Regions from separate parts of the Homo sapiens genome. Here all the other regions are linked to region 4. The links are contacts of gene promoters, found by promoter capture Hi-C in blood cells and fetal thymus (Javierre and others, 2016). All regions are on one chromosome and are shown on one strand. The core of a region is centred on a gene start or on the middle of the fragment in contact, and the rest is flanking DNA. Distances in the headings are between cores, read along the strand shown. Region 1 overlaps ATP6V0A1 (ATPase H+ transporting V0 subunit a1). Region 2 holds the start of ACLY (ATP citrate lyase). Region 3 overlaps ATP6V0A1 (ATPase H+ transporting V0 subunit a1). Region 4 holds the start of GHDC (GH3 domain containing).

Evidence for each region. The method cuts DNA at HindIII sites, captures the fragments that hold promoters and counts their contacts. A CHiCAGO score of 5 or more calls a contact.
Region 1: a contact is called between a fragment that was not itself captured here and the fragment with the promoter of GHDC in region 4, in 1 of 17 cell types (fetal thymus). The highest score is 5.3, in fetal thymus.
Region 2: a contact is called between the fragment with the promoter of ACLY here and the fragment with the promoter of GHDC in region 4, in 2 of 17 cell types (M0 macrophages and megakaryocytes). The highest score is 5.6, in M0 macrophages.
Region 3: a fragment that was not itself captured here is called in contact with the fragment with the promoter of GHDC in region 4 in 2 of 17 cell types (endothelial precursors and activated CD4 T cells); the score reaches 5.8 in endothelial precursors.

What each region holds. Positions count from the first base shown.
Region 1 is chr17:42,503,860-42,507,548 of GRCh38, reverse strand. It overlaps ATP6V0A1 (ATPase H+ transporting V0 subunit a1), which reads right to left. Exons shown (of 22, transcript NM_001130021.3): 18 at 1-29. Among named protein-coding and RNA genes, the nearest start is that of MIR5010, 8.5 kb to the left of the region's middle. The HindIII fragment of the contact is 2,565 bases long and covers 561-3,125 here.
Region 2 is chr17:41,916,791-41,920,525 of GRCh38, reverse strand. It overlaps ACLY (ATP citrate lyase), which reads left to right and starts at 1,575. Exons shown (of 29, transcript NM_001096.3): 1 at 1,575-1,646. RefSeq lists silencers at 1,193-1,452, 1,933-2,172. The HindIII fragment of the contact is 30,796 bases long and covers 1-3,735 here.
Region 3 is chr17:42,486,526-42,490,511 of GRCh38, reverse strand. ATP6V0A1 (ATPase H+ transporting V0 subunit a1) reads right to left here. Exons shown (of 22, transcript NM_001130021.3): 10 at 3,145-3,357; 11 at 1-25. Among named protein-coding and RNA genes, the nearest start is that of MIR548AT, 6.3 kb to the left of the region's middle. The HindIII fragment of the contact is 1,543 bases long and covers 808-2,350 here.
Region 4 is chr17:42,193,133-42,197,206 of GRCh38, reverse strand. It overlaps GHDC (GH3 domain containing), which reads left to right and starts at 2,713. Exons shown (of 10, transcript NM_032484.5): 1 at 2,713-2,814; 2 at 3,357-3,440; 3 at 3,613-3,890. The coding sequence starts at 3,626. RefSeq lists enhancers at 2,571-2,800, 3,695-4,074. The HindIII fragment of the contact is 986 bases long and covers 2,475-3,460 here.

The DNA.
Region 1 (3,689 bases), core at 594-3,093, 310 kb before region 4:
ACCCTGATCCCACCAAAGTTGAGAGTTCCCTACACAGATGAACAGAAAGAGTAGAATTTGCCTGGGCTTTAACATGACATTCTGTGAGGTGGGAAGGGCGATGGTTAGTAACACAAACCTCAGAAAAGCATATGTCTAACAACAAAAACAAAACCCACTGACTGAACGGCTAAGTAAAATCAAACAACTGTTCCACCCCAACCACCGCCTCCCCAGCCCCAGCCCAACCTACAATTACCACCTTACCCTGCTTCAGAGGAAATATGCAGTTCTGTCTGCTGTGCCAAGAGGCACCAGCCTCACCTGGGTCAACACTAATTGAGAATCCTGCTTGAATGAAAACCTTAATATGAACAGATTCTCACAACAAGTACAGCTCTATCTGTAAAGGCTGCAAGGGCCTAAGCTTTTCTGGCCCTAACGATTAGACTTTCTAAGAGGAAGGGGGGCCAAGTGACATTGTGATTGTACCCTAGTCTGATAAGCTTTTAACAGGAGCCCAAGAATTCCAGCAACTTCTTCCAGAAATGTACCATGTCTCTGCCCAGGAACAAAAAGCTTCCAAGGTCAGAGAAGGAAAAAAATGCTTAATGTACATTCACTTGTGGCTAGAGAATGCTGAGCTTAAAAAGATGAGTAGGGGCTCCTTTTCTTCAGCAGACAGCTCTGGAATGTTAGAACAATTCTTCCACAGGCACGTGGGCAGACGCTGATGGGGCATTTGCTTCTTCTGAGTTCACAAACACAGTCTTTTGTAGGGTCTCCAAAAGTAGATTTTAAAGTCAACTTGATTTGAAAAAACTTGAGTTTTTCCAAACCCAAAGCAAAAAAGACTCTTTGGGAAAAAAAACCAGGCAGAAATGAGTTAAGTCTCACAGATCCCAATTAGTGCTAACCTGCCACAGCGTGAAAAGGAATTTAAACAGCAGCCCCCAGAATCACTTCATATGGTTTCTGTCCAGGGGGCCAAACAAGGCAAGAGCTCAAGGGCAGCTCTCCTGCAACCTGGCCTTCGGGCAGCAGCATGAGTAGCGTGCAGGAGGCCTGCGCAGCTGCCCTGCGCTCCTCATCCTCAGCTCCACCTCCTGGTGTGCCATTTTTTGCCACAGCTCTCATCACAGTTTAATGCCCACCTCAGATCTAATTATTTGCACAAATCCTCCCTCCTACTCTAGCAGTGGTCCTTAACATGCTGGTCAGAGAACTAGTTGCATTAGAATTACCCCAAAAGCTGCATTTTAAATAGAAATTCTCAAATACTACTCCCAGAAATTGTAAATTTAGTAGTTCTGGGGTGGGGCCCAATAAATCTGTATTTTAAAAATATATTCCCAAGTACAAATTGTATAATCATTGTGAAGGGTTTATCAAAATTTTAAATGCATGAACCCTTTGAGATTCAGCAATCCCACTGCTGGAACATCTAGGCTTGCAAAACTTTGGCAAGGTATATGGATAAGGGGCTGGGCGCGGTGGCTCATGCCTGTAATCCTAGCATTTTGGAAGGCCGAGTCAGGCAGATCACCTGAGGTCAAAAGTTCGTGATCAGCCTGGCCAACATGGCGAAACCCCGTCTCTACTAAAAATACAAAAATTAGTTGGGCGTAGAGGTGGGCGCCTGTAATCCCAGCTACTCTGGAGGCTGAAGCAGGACAACTGCTGAAACCCGGGAGGTGATGGTTGCAGTGAGCTGAGATCATACCACTGCACTCCATCTTGGGCAACACAGCGAGACTCTGTCTCAAGAAAAAAAAAAAAAAAGACATATGAAAAAGGATGTTCCCTGAATTGCTGTTTGTGATAGCAAAGAATTGGGAACAACCAACACATCCATCAAAGAGATAATGACTTTGGCATGTCCAGTGGAATATTCTATGGAATGCTAGGCAACCATAAAAAAGAGTGATAGTCAGCTGGGCACAGTGGCTCACACCTGTAATCCCAGCACTTTGGGAGGCCACAGCGGGCAGATCACAAGGTCAGGAGTTCGAGACCAGCCCGGCCAACATGGTGAAACCCCGTCTCTCCTAAAAATCCAAAAATTAGTCCAGGCACAGTGGCTCACACCTGTAATCCCAGCACTTTGGGAGCCTGAGGCAGGTGGATCACGAGGTCAGGAGTTCAAGACCAGCCTGGCCAACATGGTGAGACCCTGTCTCTACTAAAAATACAAAAATTAGCCGGGGGAGGTGGTGGGTGCCTGTAATCCCAGCTACTCAGGAAGCTGAGGCAGGAGAATTGCTTGAACTGGGGAGGCGGAGGTTGTAGTGAGCCAAGATCGTGCCACTGCACTCTAGCCTGGGCGACAGGGCAAGACTCTATCTCAAAAACAAAACAAAACAAAAATTAGCCAGGCGTAGTGGTGCATGCCCATAATCCTAGCTACTCATGAGGCTGAGGCAGGAGAATTGCTTGAACCTGGGAGGTGGAGGTTGTAGTGAGCTGAGATCGTGCCACTGCACTACAGCTGGGTGACAGATCAAGACTTCATCTCAGAAAAAAAAAAAAAAAAGTGATTATCACTATGAAACAATCTTCAAGATACACTAACTTTTAAAAAACGTAATAGATCGAGAGGCAGAACAGTGCCACAGTTTAAAACACAATTCCTCATGTGTCTTTTTCTAGATGCATAGAGCACACACACACCTATCAATAGAAGACAGGCAGATATCTGTCAGAGGCAAGGCCCCCACCTGTTAACAATGCCCCCTGAAGAGGAGGACTGTAGTGGGGGCAGGTGGTTTTCTTCTTAGTTAGCACTATATGCATTCTCTAGCCAAGTGCACCTATTGCTTTATTTTTTTAATGTCAGTAGGGGATTGTCAGGACCATGAAATTATGGGCCACTTTTATTTCTTCTTCCACTTATTTGTTTTAATACCCTAAGAAACAAATTCAAAGTCTACCAGGTGACTGTGATGTGCAGTCAGACTTGTGGGCCACCAGAGCCTGGACACCTCCAGGTCATGCACATATTCCACCTGGCAACCCTCAGAAGGTGGACTGAAAATGCAACGAAGGGCACAGGAGGGGACTCCTGCATAACCTCGGCTGGGTTATAAGATATAGGAGGAAGGCTTCAAGGTTCAAGGCTCCCAAAGTAGAAGGCCATTTCTGAAGCTTTCTCCAACTAGCAGATAAACTGAGGAGCAGACAGGTTAAATCTCCCAGCCAGACACTAATAATGATCTCTTCAGAACACAGGAATGAGAGTTACAGGAAGGGGGATGAGAGACACATGTCAGCAGAAAAAAGAAAAGAAAAATTAAACTGTGATATATCACTCACAGACAACCAAGGGGACAAAGAACAGAACAAAACCAGATCACTGTTCATATCCTCAGCCCTCTGGGGTCAAAAATCCAGAGACTTTCTTGTAGACTGATCATCCTGATGCCTTCAGGCTGCTCTCCAGGAACAGATGTTTGGCTAAAGAACCAGTGGGGTAAGAAGACCCTATGAATGTGCAGGTTTCCAAACGGGGAACTTTTAACTTAGAATTTATCACAGAAGAAGTCGCAAGACTTAAATGCATTAAGATCTTGTCAGAAGCACATCTTATATATGCTAAGACTAGCAGAAAAAAGAGTATGTGTTAAGGACATTGACAATAGGTAGTATGTGTTCTAAAGGTTTGTTAAATGTCTCACAGGGAAGTCCCTACTTGAAAATGTATTTTAAGCAGC
Region 2 (3,735 bases), core at 326-2,825, 280 kb after region 4:
TCCACCTCCCGGGTTTAAGCGATTCTCATGCCTCAACCTCAAGAGTAGCTGGGATTTATAGGCGTGTGCCACCATGCCTGGCTAATTTTTGTATTTTTTGTAGAGATGGGGTTTTGCCTTGTTGGTCTTGAACTCCTGACCTCAAGTGATCCCCCACCTTGGCCTTCCAAAGTGCTGGGATTACAGGTGTGAGCCACCAAGACTGGCCACCCCCATTTTAGGACAAGAGAAGAGAGGTGATAAGGAACTGCTATTTCAAAAAGATGAATGGGAGGGAAGGGACCAGAAAGTGACATCATCAGGGAACACTTGATTCAGGCATGGGTAGCAAGTTCAGTTACCTTACTCCTGGCAGCAACAGGATTGGGGGAGGGGGTCTTGGAGAAGATTTTGTCTGCAAATGTCGCAACACTGTTGCAGTGTGAGTATGACCCAAAGTGCTTGGCAGGGGGACAGGCCTGCTGCTTCCCTGCATTCTGGGCTGACCTCTTCACCTGAGTCGGTCAGTGGACGCTTTTGGCCTCCTTCCTGGAGCTAGACAGCTGTTAGGCTTAGGGAGCAGCTCCGGACCTACAGGGTTGGGGTGCAGGTAGGGAGGGAGGCTGCAGCATGTCAGAGTGGTAAATACATGTCCTGATTTCCAGGACTGATTTCACATATTCTGCCCCACAAGTTCACCAGCACCTGTCAGATTGGATGTCCCAGTTTTTGGTTTGGAAAATTCGATCTGTCTCAGGTAATGGAGAAGGGGGAGACAGCAGTTCATTCATTCCAGTGTCTAAGCCTGTGGTTGGTGGGAACAAGAGACTGTCTGGGATGGCTCCAGCCCTTCGCTGGAATCTCGCATTGAATTCCTAGCTCCGCCCTGATCCGTGCTGAGGCGAGCAGGTGAGTGGGACGGACAGCGCTGTGCCTGCACCCTCCTAGCCCCACTTGCTTACCGCGGCCCCTGCCTTATCCCACACTGGGAAGTATGCTCTGTTAGCCTCGGCTCAGCCTTGCCTCATCGGCCCAGTGGGGAGAGTCCAGGGAGGAGAGAGGCTCCACGTGCTAAAGGAAAGCGGCCTGCCAGACACTGCTGCTTAAGGAGACTGTCTAAGCAATCGGATTCGGTGCGGCCGAGATGCAGACGTCCGTTTCTCCCAAGGGAAGGAGCAAGGGTACTCCAGGTCCCAAAGCTGCGTTACAGCCAGTTGGGCTAATCCTACCCGCCCCTCCCCCAACTCCCCGAGTGGCAATCTGTCCAGCCCCTCAAGCGATCAGGCCACAACCCCCAGCACCGCGCGTTCTCCTCCCAGCCTAGCCCGGCCCATCTCCCCACCCGGGGCCCCGCCCCGGCCCCGCAGGCTCCCAAGAGGCGGTGGATGGGCCAGCGGGACTACAAGTCCCAGCAGGCCCCGGGGCCCGCCCTCGTGGGGCGGAGCCAAGCCAGCAGCGAATTGGGAGGAGCCCTGGCGCTCAGGCTAGGGAACGCGTGTGGCCAATCGCGGGGCCGTTCTCGCCGCGAGCCGATGGGGGCGGGGAAAAGTCCGGCTGGGCCGGGACAAAAGCCGGATCCCGGGAAGCTACCGGCTGCTGGGGTGCTCCGGATTTTGCGGGGTTCGTCGGGCCTGTGGAAGAAGCGCCGCGCACGGACTTCGGCAGAGGTGAGCACGGGAGGCTGTTTTCGCTGGCTGGAGCCCGCTCGCCCTAGGAGCTTCCTGCCTCCGTCCCCCAACCCGGAACCGCCTTCCCCGACGCGGGCTCGGTGCCCACGCGCCCTGCTCGGAAGTTTTGAGGGTCTTAGCTTTAGGTTAGCCTTCGCCCGGGGTCCCGGCCGGTGGCCGCGTGTCGACGCCCCTCCCCTCCCCCCGCGCGACACACACATATTCCAGTTCCTGGGAGTTTGCATGGGGCTTGCCGCCATCCTTGCCTCTTCTGCCTCTGCCACATTGCATGGTCCCCCTCCTGGCGCGCCTCACCCCTCCCGGGCACAGCTATCGAGGCTCCTCGGGCTCATCGGGACGCCTTTTGGCTCCATCCGGGTTCCCCCATCGGATGCCGGGACGGGAAGTAGAGAAAGCGGTGGCGACTGGTCCCACTCCGATTCCTCACTGGCCGGGCTCAGGCCCTTCTTGGTTCCGTGGGTACAAAATTGAGCTCCACGCCCAAGTGGAGAGAATGAGCTATGCGCGCCTCCGGGGCGGGCCACGCGGGGCCAGGCTGCCCCAGGGTGCCCGAGGCCTCGCCTCGTCTCGCCGCGAGGACTGGAATCTCGCAGCAAGGACCCTCCTCGCACTGGAGGTATCGTCGAGTCCAGCCCCTAAGTGACAGATGGCCGGGGTGCCACCCCACCCTTGAGCTGACGCCAAGTCTGGCCGGGGAAAGGTCCTCAAGGGGCTGGAGGATGCTGCCGCCGCCCTCCTGTCGAGCCTGGCAATGGGCCAGTCCCAGCGCCTGCCGCGGTCTCCAACCTTGGCAGATACCGTGCAGTGCCGAGTTCTGCCGTTATGGGGTCCCTGGAGGTCTTCCTGGGAAGAGGATTTTGGAAGAGACGATAAGGAAAAGTGCACAGCACAGTTTGGCCAGCTAGCCTACTCCTCTCCACCCTTAACTTTCCTCTGTGTTTTCAGCTGGCTCAGCTGAACTAAAATGTGGGGTGAGGGACAGCTGGTAGGTCTCATTTGCCCAGATGGGTGATTTTCACCTCTTAGAAACCTTCCTAAACAGCTTGGGGGGCGGTAGTGGGAAGACCCCTCAGACACTGGACAGCTTATGGCTCCATCCCCGTTCTGACACTATGCCTGCCGCAGTAAGGGGCACTCACAGAATTCTGCCTCTCTAGAATTTACTCCAGGGATTGCCTGTCTTCTCAAAAAATAAATAAATAAATACCTACATACGTAAGTCCCAATCCTGCAGATACTAACCTTCAAATGAGTGTTTTTGTCTTTCCCAGAGGCACCCTTAGTAGCATCCCCAGTGATTCCCTTCCCCTGGCTGTGTCCCAGGGGCGTGTTCTGGGGAACAGGCTTCTTTCATTCAGCCTCCTGTGTGGGCTGCTTCTCTCAGTGTCTGCTAAAAGTGAACTCAATCCTGGGTCACTCACCCGTCTGCAGAAAGACTCCATTCAGCTCATAAGGCCCCTCCCTTAGAGAATGTGTGTATGTGTGTGTTTTCAGGTTCCTTGGCATGATTTCCCCCAAATGGTTTACACATTTAGCTGTTACCAAGTAACAGTTCCTGGAGTCCAAGCTCAGCCCAATCATCTGTTACTTGTTTGACAGCACATTCAGCTACTGGGGAGGCAGACTAAGACGTTCTGGGGAGCGGTCCCAAACCCAGATAGGTATTTGTAGGTATTTGCTGATTCCACTAGAGCAAATATTCTTTTTTTTTTTTTTTTTTTTTTGAGACAGAGTCTTGCTCTGTCGGCAGGCTGGAGTGCAGTGGTGGATCTCGGTTCACTGCAACCTCCGCCTCCTGGGTTCTAGCGATTCTCCTGCCTCAGCCTCCCCAGTAGCTACAGGTGTGCACCACCACGCCCGGCTAATTTTTGTATTTTTAGTAGAAACAGGGTTTCACCATATTGGCCAGGCTGGTCTCAAACTCCTGACCTCGTGATTTGCCCTCCTTGGCCTCCCGAAGTGCTGGGATTACAGGCGCAAGCCACCGTGCCTGGCCGCAAATGTTCTTAACTGGTGGTCAGTCTGTGGGCCATCGGATCATTGTCACAGGTGAGCACCTTGAAACAAT
Region 3 (3,986 bases), core at 330-2,829, 290 kb before region 4:
AAGGTACAGTGGAACCACTGTGTTCCTGAAAAACATTAGCACATTTATCAAACTTAGGTTATCCTCCTAATTGTGGTAGTGGTTACACAGGTGTACATTTCTTGAAACTCATCAAATGGTACACATAAAATGTATGTATTTTCTTTCATGTAAATTATATCTCAATAAAACTAATAAACCTAAAAATAAAACTAGATTATCTTTCCCAGCTTTTGGGAAAACTGGGAAAAGGTATAACATTTATAATGGAAGATTTCTATTAGATCCTCTGAAATACATCCTTAATGTGAAAAAAATTTAACTTTAAAATATGTCACCAAAGAAAATGTGGAACTGCCTCCATATCTGCCTTTTTATGAAAGTTGTTCTCCCCCTTTCATGGAGAAAGCAAAGTATGTTCTCTGGCTCTCCTTCTTCACTACCTTCTCTTAACTTCCTGATCCCTTGCAGTCTGGCTGAGCATGCTTAGGCAAAGTGACTGGCTCCTGACCAAAGAGCTTCTCTCCCCCATGCACGCCCCTGACATTGGAGATCTTTGGTGAAAATCCTTCTTCCTTAGGAGTTCTCCTCCTGCTCGCTGACCATTGCTTTTCTATCTTTGCTGGTTATTTCTGCTCTGCCTATCTCATAGCATTGCAAGACCCCAACCTTTTTTTTCTCTCTATGACCTCCCTCTTGGAGGTCTCATTCCCTTCCATTCTCATGACTCCCATTTCCTTAGCTTTGTTCCCTTGTCTGCTTGACATTTCCACATAGACCTCAATGTGCCCGGAACTGAACTTACCATCTCTCCCCAATCAATAAGCTTCTCTGGCTGAACATTTACTTCCCTCATTGGAACCCTAATTCTCCTGGCCAGTCAGCTTTGATGCCTCAAAAAGATGTTTAAATCTTTCTCCTTGTATTTCTCCTGCACCTTGCTAGGAACCAGGTAGCCCTATTGATTTTTCCTGCAGAACATCTCACAATTCATCATTTTTTTTCCCATTGTCAAGTCCTACCTGGGGATCCTTATCATTTACTACTCTATGTCTACAATAACCTCCTAACTGAACCCCTACCTACAGAATCTCTTCACTCCTCAATCCAACCTAGATACTATCAGCAGATTACTCTTTTAAAACTGCTTTGAGCCAGGAGAAGTGGCTCATGCCTGTAATCCCTGCACTTTGGGAGGCTGAGGCGGGTGGATCACCTGAGGTCAGGAGTTCGACACCAGCTTGGTCAACGTGATGAAACCCCGTCTCCACTAAAAATACAAAAAATTAGCTGGGTGTGGTGGCGCACACCTGTAATCCCAGCTACTCAGGAGGCTGAGGCAGGAGAATCACTTGAAGCAGGGAGGTGGAGGGTGGAGGTTGCAGTGAGCCGAGATCATGCCACTGCACTCCAGCCTGGGCAACAAGAGCAAAACTCCATCTCAAAAAAAAAAAAACCAAAAAACAAAAAAACTGCTTTGATCCACCAGGCGTGGTGACCCACTTTTTTTTTTTTTTTGAGACAGAGTCTCACTCTGCTGTCCAGGCTGGAGTGCAGTGGCATGATCTCAGCTCACTGCAACCTCTGCCTCCTGGGTTCAAGTGGTTCTCCTGCCTCAGCCTCCTGAGTAGCTGGGATCACAGGCACCCACCACCATACCTGGCTAACTTTTTTGTATTTTTAGTAGAGACGGGGTTTTGTCATGTTGGCCAGGCTGGTCTCAAACTCCTGACCTCAAGTGATGACCCGCCTCAACCTCCCAAAGTGCTGGATTACAAGAGTGAGTCACCACGCCTGGCCCCAACACTTTGGAAGGCCAAGGAAGGCAGATCACTCGAGCCCAGGAATTTGAGATCAGCCTGGGCAACATGGCAAAACCCTGTCTCTACAAAAAATTAGCCACGCATGATGGTGGGCACCTGTAGTCCCAGCTACCGGGAGTCTGAAGTGGGAGGATTGCTTAAGCCCAGGAGTTGGAAGCTGAAGTGAGCTGAGATGGCACCACTGCACTCCAGCCTGGGTAACAGAGCAAGATCTTGTCTCAAACACAAAATTAAAAATGTAAAAAACCACCCAAACTGCTTTGATCATGTTCCTTTACCCCTAAAGAACTTCCAATGTCTCTCAACTTCCTCTGGAATAAAATTTAAATCTTCTAAGCTATTATTTAAGAACCTTTCACAATTAAGTTCCAAACTACCTGATGCAGACAGGTACTTCTCTTCAGCTAACCCACTGTAAATCCTGTTCTTGTCCAAACATACATGGTCTAACCATACTTCCTGCCTTTGTTTTCTTCTCTTCATTCAGCAGTCTTACCAACAACTTATCATTCTTCAAAGACCTGATCAAATGCCACCTGCTTAAAGCTTTTTCCAACTCCATAGTTGGAACTCTCCTAATAAACTGTAAGATACTCGAGGGCATGTTTTATACATCTCTGTACTCCTCCAGGCACTTACAGCACTTCTGTGGACAGAGTAGTTGTTCTAATTAACTACTAAACAGAAACAGTCATATACAGAGAGGGCATCAGGAAACTGATGCCCTGGCCATGAACAACCCTGAAGAATCATGGGCATATGACCAAATTATTTCAGCTCTCTGAACTGCAGTCTCCACATATGCAAAATAAAGATATGCTATGCTACGCTATGATATACATATTATATGCCAGGCTATGTATGAAATGTGCTGTCAAGTTAAAAGACAAATAAATATATTGAAGAACTCTGAAGGTGAAATGCCATAAAAATGACATTAATGTTACTATTTATTTATTTTTTATTATTATTTTTTTTTTTTGAGACAGAGTCTCGCTCTGTTGCCCAGGCTGGAATGCAGTGGCGCAATCTCAGCTCACTGCAAGCTCCGCCTCCCAGGTTCACTTGATTCTTCTGCCTCAGTCTCCAGAGTAGCTGGGACTACAGGCGCCTGCCAACACGCCCGGCTAATTTTTTGTATTTTTTAGTAGAGACGGGGTTTCACCGTGTTAGCCAGGATGGTCTCGATCTCTTGACCTCATGATCTGCCCGCCTCGGCCTCCCAAAGTTCTGGGATTACAGGCATGAGCCACCGCGCCCGGCCAAAAATGACATTAATGTTACTATTGATGGGAACCTCTCTTCCGGGCCACGAGCTGCATTGTTAGCTTTGGGGACTCACCGTGCCCCTTCTGAGTGCAAACTGGATGGAGTCAAGGTCGGTGACAGGGCACCAGACCTCTGCAATCAAGCATTTCTGAGTCACATCTATGTTGCACAGGTTCAGGGTGTGATAGATGGCCTTCATCTTCCGCACTTTGATGAACCAGACACGGATGTTCTTAGCAGCTGCCTGCAGAACCCTCTGGCGGTGATCCTCCGTTTGATTCAGAACCTTTGGGGAGAAAAGGAACAAGCGAGGGATCCTTTTAACACCAGTTTTAGATCTCAGGGTATGAATGGCAAAGAGGCATAGCTTTCTGAAAAGAGTTGCCAGGGAATTGTCTTTTTCTTCCTCTGGCTAGAATGGTTTCTTTTTTCCAAATTACAAGAAATTAGAGTTCTAGTTACTAACATTCACTTTTATTTAGCTTCAACCTAAAAAGAAACCTGAGAAAATAGTTTAGCTTTTCTATATATGTTCAATCTTACCACCAATCCAAGGCACAACAAATGTAGGTCACTGCCTTTAACTTGGCTTATTAAAGAGCAACGACTTTCTATGTGGGGAATGTAACTCAGTAGGCATCACAAGCCCAGGAGCTGACAAATTAACAAATCCACACAGAATCCTTTGCACATGGGCCAGCATCAGGAGAGGGTGGAAAGAGGCAGTGCTGAATACCACCACCAGCCTACACTGGGAACATGGGCCAGGAGACGCCATGGGATCAGGAGCACCTGTGATCTTTACAGGGGGCTTGGACTGCCACATACCACTGCCATCATGAGGGCAGCTAAGGTGTTACCTTTATGTCAGGCTTCTCATCAGAGGAAAAAATGGTTCAGTGTTGATCCTTTTGA
Region 4 (4,074 bases), core at 1,464-3,963:
ATTTTTAGTAGAGACAGTGTTTTGCCATGTTGGCCAGGCTGGTCTTGAACTCCTGACTTCAGGTGATCCACCTGCCTTGGCCTCCCAAAGTGCTGGGATTATAGGTGTGAGCCACCACGCCCAGCCTGAGTTTGGGGTTTTTTATTTTATTTTATTTTATTTTATTTTATTTTATTTTATTTTATTTTATTTAACGAATTGGGCAGTCTCCTGAGGCACAGTAGGCTCAGAGAGACTCTGCAGGGTTTGTTTTTGAGGTAAGGAAAATGTTATTATCTGTGGTGTTGGTTGCACATATCTCTGGATATACTAGATCTTGAATTGTACACTAAATGGGTGATTTGTATGGTGTGTGAATTATATCTAATAAAGCTGTTACTGGGCCAGGTCTAGTGGCTTACACCTGTAATTCCAGCACTTTGGAAGGCCAAGGTAGGAGGATCGCTGAGACCGGGAGTTCCAGACCAGTCTGGGCAACATAGTAAGACCCCCTGTCTCTACAAAAAAAAAAAAAAAATGTTTTTAATTAGCTGGGTGTGGTGGCACATGCCTGTAGTCCTAGCCACTCAGAGGCTGGGGTAGGAGGATTGCTTGATCCCCGGAGTTCAAGGTTGCAATGAGCTGTGACCAGGCCACTGAACTCCAGCCTGGACAACAGAGCAAGACCCTGTCTTTAAATAAATAATAAAAGCAAATGCAAGATCTCAGCGAGAAAAAACGTGAAAGTGAGGTGAGTTAGCCAGAGTGAGAACAGACCTGTTGAAAGAAGCTCAGCTGTGAAGGGAAGAGAGGTGCTCAGCAAGTAGTAGCTCTCTTCTCAAAGGTATCCAGAGGCAAGTAAGGGGAGAAAGGGAGTGGTTTTAGTGTTTTGAGAGCCTAGGTCAAGAACACACCAGCCTGGGCAACATAGGGAGCTCTCTCGTCTCTACAAAAAATAAAATTAGTTGAGCGTAGTGGTGCGTACCTGTAGTTCCAGTCCCTTGGGAGGCTGAGACAGGAGGATCTCTTGAGCCCAGGAGGTTGAGGTTGCAGTGAGCTATGATCGCACCACTGCACTCCAGCCTGGGCAATAGATCAAGACCCTGTCTCAAAAACAAAAAACAAAAAAAGAGAAGTTTGTAATTTTCCTTGGGATAAAGGCAACAGGCTAACACAGATGGTCACCCAGTAACCAGGTAAAGTTAAGATAAACTATATGTGACTGGCTGGGTGCAGTGGCTCAGGCCTGTAATCCCAGCACTTTGGGAGGCCGAGGCAGGTGGATCACTTGAGGTCAGGAGTTTGAGACCAGCCTGGCCAACATGGTGACATGGTGAAACCCCGTCTCTACTAAAAATACAAAAAATTAGCTGGGTGTGGTGATGCGTGCCTGTAATCCCAGCTACTCGGGAGGCTGAGGCAGGAGAATTGCTTGAATCTGGGAGGCGGAGGTTGCAGTGAGCTAAGATCGTGCCATTGCACTCCAGCCTGGGCAACAAGAATAGAACTCTGCCAAAAAAACAAAAAAAAAGAAGTTTGTAATTTTCCTTGGGATAAAGCCAGCAAGCTAACACAGATGTTCACCTAATAACCATGTAAAGTTAAGATAAACTATGTGACTGGCTGGGTGTGGTGGCTCACACCTGTAATCCCAGCACTTTGGGAGGCCAAGGAGGGTAGATCACTTGAGGTCAAGAGTTTGAGACCAGCCTGGCCAACATGGTGAAACCCCATCTCTACTGAAAATACAAAAATTAGCTGGGCGTGGTGGCACACACCTGTAATCCCAGCTGCTTGGGAGGCTGGGGCAGCAGAATCGCTTGAACCTGGGAAGTGGAGGTTGCAGTGAGCTGAGATTGTGCCACTGCACTCCAGCCTGGGCAACAGAGCAAGACTGTGTCTCAAAAAAAAAAAAAAAAAAAAAAGATAAACTATATGTGACAAGTCCTCTTACTTGAGGACTCGTTATTGTTTATCTTGAAAACGTGTATGTAATGGGTTGTATGCGCTTGGCTATACAAAAAAGTAAGATTTCCTCCCTTCTTTGCAAGCTCTTAGCAGATCACCTGTCATGTACATCACATTGTGGTTGAATGCTTATTCAATAATAAAATTGTTTTCTTTCTCAACTACCTTGAGGGAGAGGATGGGGTTTTTTTTGTTGTTGTTTTTGTTTTGTTTGTTTTTGAGACGGAGTTTCGCTCATTGCCCAGGCTGGAGTACAATGGCGCAATCTCAGCTCACTGCAACCTCCGCCTCCCAAGTTCAAGTGATTCTTCTGCCTCAGCCTCCCAAGTAGCTGGGATTACAGGCATGTGCCACCACATCTGGCTAATTTTGTATTTTTAGTAGAGATGGGGTTTCACCATGTTGGTCAGGCTGGTGTCAAACTCCTGACCTCAGATGATCCACCCGCCTCAGCCTCCCAAAGTGTTGGGAATACAGGCGTGAGCCACCGCGCCCAGCTGAGTTGGGGTTTTAAGAGTTCTTAAGCTTGCCCCTCTCCCAGCTCAAGTGGCTTAATGGCGTTCTTTCCCACACACACCTTTCTGTTCCTTCACCTGCGCAAGTTTGAGGACCATGCTAGTCTGGTCCTAACTGCCCCAACTGCCAGCCTGGGCTAGCACCCGACATGAAGTCCTGTAGGCGACCTGCCCCTTTAAGAGCACCCCCCTCCTTCAGCTCCTCCCTCAGGCCTGGTGGCCGGATTTCCCAGTTGGGGCCCAGCCTTTTAAAGCCATCGCTCCTTCTTTCTGGCCGGATGTGTGCTGAGACCCAGAGTCACCCAGGGGTCTCCGTCACGTGCCAGGAGTAGGCAGAAGTGGGCTGTGACAGGTGCATGTGGGCATGGACCCCACAGCCTGGGGCTCAGGAGGGACAAGGAGCTGGGACAGGGTGGATCCCGAGAGAAAGCAAAGCCACTCGGGAGTGGGCAAGAGATATCGTTACGCAGCTGCTGTGTGCCCGACCGACCCTGTCCGAAACCCTTCCTGTACCTTCCCTTCCTCTTCCTTCTTTTCTCCCTTTTTTTTCTTTTCTTTTTTTTTTTGACAGGGTCTCACTCTGTTGCCCAAGCTGGGGTGCAGTGGCACGATCTTGGCTCACTGTAGCCTTGACATCCTGGGCTCAAGGGATCCTCCCATCTCAGCCTCCCAAGTAGCTGCGACTATGGGTGTGACACCACGCTGGGCTAGTTTTTCAATTTTTTGTAGAGATGGAGTCTCCCTATGTTGCTCAGGCCGGTTGCAAACTCCTGGGCTCAAGTGATTCTCCTGCCTCAGCCTCCCAAAGTGCTGGGATTACAGATGATAGCCACCTCACCCGGCCCACCCCTACCTTCTGAAAGAGGCATTCTTATTCTTATTCCCATTTTGCAGATCAGGAAACAGAGCTCAGTGCAGCCCACTAAATTGCTCAGGGCCCTACAGCTAACAAGCGGCAGAGGCAGGATCTGCACTCAGGTCAGTGGGACTCCAAAGCTTTGATAGTCTCTCCTTTGCATCACCTGCCCCACAGGGTCCTGCCTTCTTCCCAATTTCATTTTTCCTCGGTTTTCCTGTATGCAGTAGAGCGTGGGAGGAGAAATGGATAATTGCTGCATGCCCCCATATCTCGGTTCCTTCCTCTTCCCAGGAGCTGCTTGGAGATGCTGCTGTGGCCACTGCTGCTGCTGCTGCTGCTGCTGCCAACATTGGCCCTGCTCAGGCAGCAGCGGTCCCAGGATGCCAGGCTGTCCTGGCTTGCTGGCCTCCAGCACCGAGTGGCATGGGGGGCCCTGGTCTGGGCAGCCACCTGGCAGCGGCGGAGGCTGGAGCAGAGCACGCTCCATGTGCACCAGAGCCAGCAGCAGGCCCTGAGGTGGTGTCTACAGGGAGCCCAGCGCCCCCACTGTTCCCTCAGAAGGAGCACAGGTGTGTTTCCCAGGGTCTGGGGAGGTGACCCAAAGAGAAAGAAACCCCACAGGACCGTCAGATTCCAGAGCCTGATGGCCCCCTTACCTCCTCCACTGCCAACGGAGTGGCCTGACCCAGAGACCCAGGACTGGCTTTCTTGTCCAAGATGAATTTCCCATGCTGGGTCCTTACATCCTCTCTA